Regions from separate parts of the Homo sapiens genome. Here region 1 is linked to region 2. The links are contacts of gene promoters, found by promoter capture Hi-C in human tissues and cell types (Jung and others, 2019). All regions are on one chromosome and are shown on one strand. Each heading gives the region's core, a stretch centred on a gene start or on the middle of the fragment in contact. The rest is flanking DNA. Distances are from core to core; before and after follow the strand shown.

Region 1 (2,700 bases), core at 98-2,597, 170 kb before region 2:
TCATTTCTTTTAACACTATTAGTTCTCTCTTAAAATGAACATGCTCATTAAATTAATTCAAATCAATATTAGGCTGCCCTTTTAAAAAACTCAGAGCAAACAAGAACAATTAAATTATGTATTTACTTGCCTTTGACCTTGAGCAATTGACCTTTCTCTAGACAGGGCTAACAATTTTACTTGGATTTGAGTAGCTGCAAAAATTGCTGAGAAGTCAATTTAAAGTCTTAGGAAAACGTTTTATCAGACTGAAGTCTCCTAAATCATTTGTCAATCACTTGTTGGTAGTCATTTAAGTCGAGCTCAATCGCCCTAAGCCACATATTCATTTTAATCCATGAATAATGTAGTAATGACTCATTGACAGCTATTAACCAGCTCCTAGAGTTTTCATACCTGCAACTTTTAAGGGATTCTAAGCAAAGCATTCTAGAAATAAAACAATATAAATAGAAAGTAGTCATTTCACTTTCATTTTAGGGTAGATGACATGATACAAGGATGACTTTAGTAATAATCAATTGCTCTATGATACCTAGAGTTGTCCCTTGGTGAAACTTGGTTTCACAGCTTCTACCTCTCAAATGTATCCAGAATCCAACCACTTCTCACTACTTTCCTTCTCACCACTTGTGAAATAAAACCCCTGGCCCTGAATTTAAATCCTGCTCCAAGCCAAATCATCATGCCTCCCCTGGATTTTGGCATTAACTCCCTAAACTGTCTCCTAAATTGCCACCTTTGTCCACAGTATTCTCAACAGGGAAGCCAGGTGATCCTTACAAAATGTAAGTGATACCATGTCATCTGCCATCTACAAATCCTATTCCTTTCGCTCAAGGCCTTTCTTCCTATGGGTGTGAGGCAGCAGGTTCACTGCTTCCCTGTGATTCTGACTTCGTCTCCTCCTGTTCTCCTCCTCACTCATGCCACTCAACCCGCAGGCTCCCTGTTGTTGACCCCGCCATGCCCTGCCTGCACACGAAAATAGTTCTCTTTAGCCTGCTCTGTGAATTCCTCAGAATTTATAACTTCCAGCACCCCATATGATTTGTATATTTATTATCTTTTGTGTAGTATTTATTATTTATCTTACCTGATGAGAATGTAAGCTCTCTAAGCAAGTGGAGCTTATTGTCCGCTCTGTTTGAACAAAACAGATCAGCATCTGGTAGGTTGTAGCACTCAATACATATTTATGGAATGAACAAATGAATGAATGAATGATTAAATGCCATTAGCTGGACCCATGCTTCCATGGTCAAACATGATGCTAGGACATTCAGTTCAGTCAGCGTTTGTATACGGTATTGGTCTAAAGGCAAATGATGACCATACATAAGAAATTAAAATACATCATAATGAATGGCATTAAAAGTCAATAATACTAGCTTGAAAGACAATAAGATAAGATGGTGGAAATAGACCCTGGTACTGAAATTGACTAAACTTTAGTTAAAAGAAATCCCTGTTCCACCATTTATCAGCAAGATGACCTTTGGCAAGTCACTTTAGCATACTAATCCTTAGCTCTCTCCCATATACAATAGGGAAATCTGTGCTGCCTACTTAATCTGGTTGTTATGAAGAGTAAATGAGTTTACATATTTAAGATGCTTAATATAATTTCTTGATATGTAATAACTATTGGGGGAAGTAATAACATAGTAATTTAAAAAATGTAGAGAGAGCCTCAGAACAATCTGAAAAACACATCCCTCTTAGTTATTATAAACAATTAGTTTTGAATCAATAATGCCTGATGAATAATAGTTTTTTTAAAATGGGCAAGAATTGACCATTGATCTTTTAGAATTTCAGAGTTGGAAGTTGCATAACTATCTAATATTTGGTTAATTCTAAACCTTTTAGCCTTGGTCAGCAGTCCTCAAAACTTTTGGTCTCAGGACTCCTTCATACTCCTAAAAATAACTGGAGACCCCAAAGAGTGTTTCCTTATGTGGGTTGTAGGTATTGATATTTTCTATATTCAAAATTAAAACTGATAACTTAAAACAATTATTTATTAATTCATTTAAATAATATCAATAATACACCCATTAGATAGTAAAATAAATTTTCTTTACAAAACTACATTTTTTAAACAAAAAATTTAGTGAGAAGGGTAGCATTGTTTCACAGTTTTGCAAATCTCTTTTTTTTTGAGATGGAGCCTTGCTCTGTCCCCAGGCTGGAGTGCAGTGGCACGATCTTGGCTCACTGCCACCTTCGTCTCCCAGGTTCAAGCGATTCTCCTGCCACAGCCTCCTGAGTAGCTGGGATTACAGGCACGCACCACCATGCCTGGCTAATTTTTGTATTTTTAGTGGAGATGGGGTTTCACCATGTTGGTCAGGCTGGTCTCGAACTCCTGACCTCGTGATCCACCTGCCTCGGCCTCCCAAAGTGCTGGGATTACAGGTGTGATCCACTGCGCCTGGCCTTTGCAAATCTCTTTAATGTCTAGGTTAATAGAATAAAACTGGATTCTTCTATCTGCTTTTGCATTCAATCTGTTGTGATGTCATACATAATGCAGGCTTTGCAAACCCCCCTCAATCACTCATGACAAAATGAGAGTGGAAAAGACAAATAACATATTAGTAATACAGTCATGTGTTGCTTAACCAAAGGAATATGTTCTGAGAAATTCATTGTTTGGTGATTTTGTCATTGTGTGAACATCATAGGCTGCACTTA
Region 2 (2,700 bases), core at 194-2,693:
ATTTGCCTTTCTCTAGTTTTGTTTTCTGTGTTTCTACGGACTGCTCTCAGCCCAGGTGTGCAGGAAGCACACACATGCCTGCAGAGCCTTCATGGCCTCTGCATTCAGGGCATGACTTCAACGCACAGTGGCTGTACTGATTTGTTAAAACAAAGGAACAGATTACTTCTCCTAATTCACAGGGAAGTTCCAGGTTGTGCGGGCAGTGAGCAGACCTGTGTCTGTCTGCGCTTGCCCTGGTGAAAAACCCCACCGTTCAGGCTGCAGGGTGCGAGACCCAGGCACAAACATTTTGCTGGATGAGGAGGAAAGATGTAAGGTTGCTCCCCTTCAGAGACAGCAAAGGGCAGGTCTGTAGCTTCACTTACTTCAGGATTGTGATTTTTGACAGAGCCGAGAGATCAGGGTTGTTGAACCAGGCCTGAAGGTCCTAGTGAATCTCGTGAAGAGAGGAGGGGTCTGGCTGTAACATGGACCTAGAGGACATTTTTACTGCAGGAGAAGGAACAGTGGGGATGGGGTGGACTTGCCAAAGGAATATAGCTCAAGTTCCTGCAGCCCAAAAAAGCTCAGTTTCTTTTGGCCAAAGCTTCCGCGAGTTTCCCTGGCATTTCTCCTGCGGGAGCTACAGGGGCAGTGGGACACTTAGCCTCTCTAAAAGCACCTCCACGGCTGTTTGTGTCAAGCCTTTATTCCAAGAGCTTCACTTTTGCGAAGTAATGTGCTTCACACATTGGCTTCAAAGTACCCATGGCTGGTTGCAATAAACATTAAGGAGGCCTGTCTCTGCACCCGGAGTTGGGTGCCCTCATTTCAGATGATTTCGAGGGTGCTTGACAAGATCTGAAGGACCCTCGGACTTTAGAGCACCACCTCGGACGCCTGGCACCCCTGCCGCGCGGGCACGGCGACCTCCTCAGCTGCCAGGCCAGCCTCTGATCCCCGAGAGGGTCCCGTAGTGCTGCAGGGGAGGTGGGGACCCGAATAAAGGAGCAGTTTCCCCGTCGGTGCCATTATCCGACGCTGGCTCTAAGGCTCGGCCAGTCTGTCTAAAGCTGGTACAAGTTTGCTTTGTAAAACAAAAGAAGGGAAAGGGGGAAGGGGACCCTGGCACAGATTTGGCTCGACCTGGACATAGGCTGGGCCTGCAAGTCCGCGGGGACCGGGTCCAGAGGGGCAGTGCTGGGAACGCCCCTCTCGGAAATTAACTCCTCAGGGCACCCGCTCCCCTCCCATGCGCCGCCCCACTCCCGCCGGAGACTAGGTCCCGCGGGGGCCACCGCTGTCCACCGCCTCCGGCGGCCGCTGGCCTTGGGTCCCCGCTGCTGGTTCTCCTCCCTCCTCCTCGCATTCTCCTCCTCCTCTGCTCCTCCCGATCCCTCCTCCGCCGCCTGGTCCCTCCTCCTCCCGCCCTGCCTCCCCGCGCCTCGGCCCGCGCGAGCTAGACGTCCGGGCAGCCCCCGGCGCAGCGCGGCCGCAGCAGCCTCCGCCCCCCGCACGGTGTGAGCGCCCGACGCGGCCGAGGCGGCCGGAGTCCCGAGCTAGCCCCGGCGGCCGCCGCCGCCCAGACCGGACGACAGGCCACCTCGTCGGCGTCCGCCCGAGTCCCCGCCTCGCCGCCAACGCCACAACCACCGCGCACGGCCCCCTGACTCCGTCCAGTATTGATCGGGAGAGCCGGAGCGAGCTCTTCGGGGAGCAGCGATGCGACCCTCCGGGACGGCCGGGGCAGCGCTCCTGGCGCTGCTGGCTGCGCTCTGCCCGGCGAGTCGGGCTCTGGAGGAAAAGAAAGGTAAGGGCGTGTCTCGCCGGCTCCCGCGCCGCCCCCGGATCGCGCCCCGGACCCCGCAGCCCGCCCAACCGCGCACCGGCGCACCGGCTCGGCGCCCGCGCCCCCGCCCGTCCTTTCCTGTTTCCTTGAGATCAGCTGCGCCGCCGACCGGGACCGCGGGAGGAACGGGACGTTTCGTTCTTCGGCCGGGAGAGTCTGGGGCGGGCGGAGGAGGAGACGCGTGGGACACCGGGCTGCAGGCCAGGCGGGGAACGGCCGCCGGGACCTCCGGCGCCCCGAACCGCTCCCAACTTTCTTCCCTCACTTTCCCCGCCCAGCTGCGCAGGATCGGCGTCAGTGGGCGAAAGCCGGGTGCTGGTGGGCGCCTGGGGCCGGGGTCCCGCACGTGCGCCCCGCGCTGTCTTCCCAGGGCGCGACGGGGTCCTGGCGCGCACCCGAGGGGCGGGCGCTGCCCACCCGCCGAGACTGCACTGTTTAGGGAAGCTGAGGAAGGAACCCAAAAATACAGCCTCCCCTCGGACCCCGCGGGACAGGCGGCTTTCTGAGAGGACCTCCCCGCCTCCGCCCTCCGCGCAGGTCTCAAACTGAAGCCGGCGCCCGCCAGCCTGGCCCCGGCCCCTCTCCAGGTCCCCGCGATCCTCGTTCCCCAGTGTGGAGTCGCAGCCTCGACCTGGGAGCTGGGAGAACTCGTCTACCACCACCTGCGGCTCCCGGGGAGGGGTGGTGCTGGCGGCGGTTAGTTTCCTCGTTGGCAAAAGGCAGGTGGGGTCCGACCCGCCCCTTGGGCGCAGACCCCGGCCGCTCGCCTCGCCCGGTGCGCCCTCGTCTTGCCTATCCAAGAGTGCCCCCCACCTCCCGGGGACCCCAGCTCCCTCCTGGGCGCCCGCGCCGAAAGCCCCAGGCTCTCC

What was found. The method cuts DNA at HindIII sites, captures the fragments that hold promoters and counts their contacts. A contact is called where the count stands out against the background at its distance.
Region 1: a contact is called between a fragment that was not itself captured here and the fragment with the promoter of EGFR in region 2, in 1 of the 25 tissues and cell types used here (IMR-90 fibroblasts).

The regions. Positions count from the first base shown.
Region 1 is chr7:54,843,830-54,846,529 of GRCh38, forward strand. No RefSeq gene overlaps it. Among named protein-coding and RNA genes, the nearest start is that of SEC61G-DT, 86 kb to the left of the region's middle. The HindIII fragment of the contact is 8,231 bases long and covers 1-2,700 here.
Region 2 is chr7:55,017,574-55,020,273 of GRCh38, forward strand. It overlaps EGFR (epidermal growth factor receptor), which reads left to right and starts at 1,444. Exons shown (of 28, transcript NM_005228.5): 1 at 1,444-1,792. The coding sequence starts at 1,705. LOC105375284 (a long non-coding RNA gene) reads right to left here and starts at 1,349. Exons shown (of 4, transcript XR_007060329.1): 1 at 1-1,349. RefSeq lists an enhancer at 2,444-2,700. The HindIII fragment of the contact is 5,592 bases long and covers 1-2,700 here.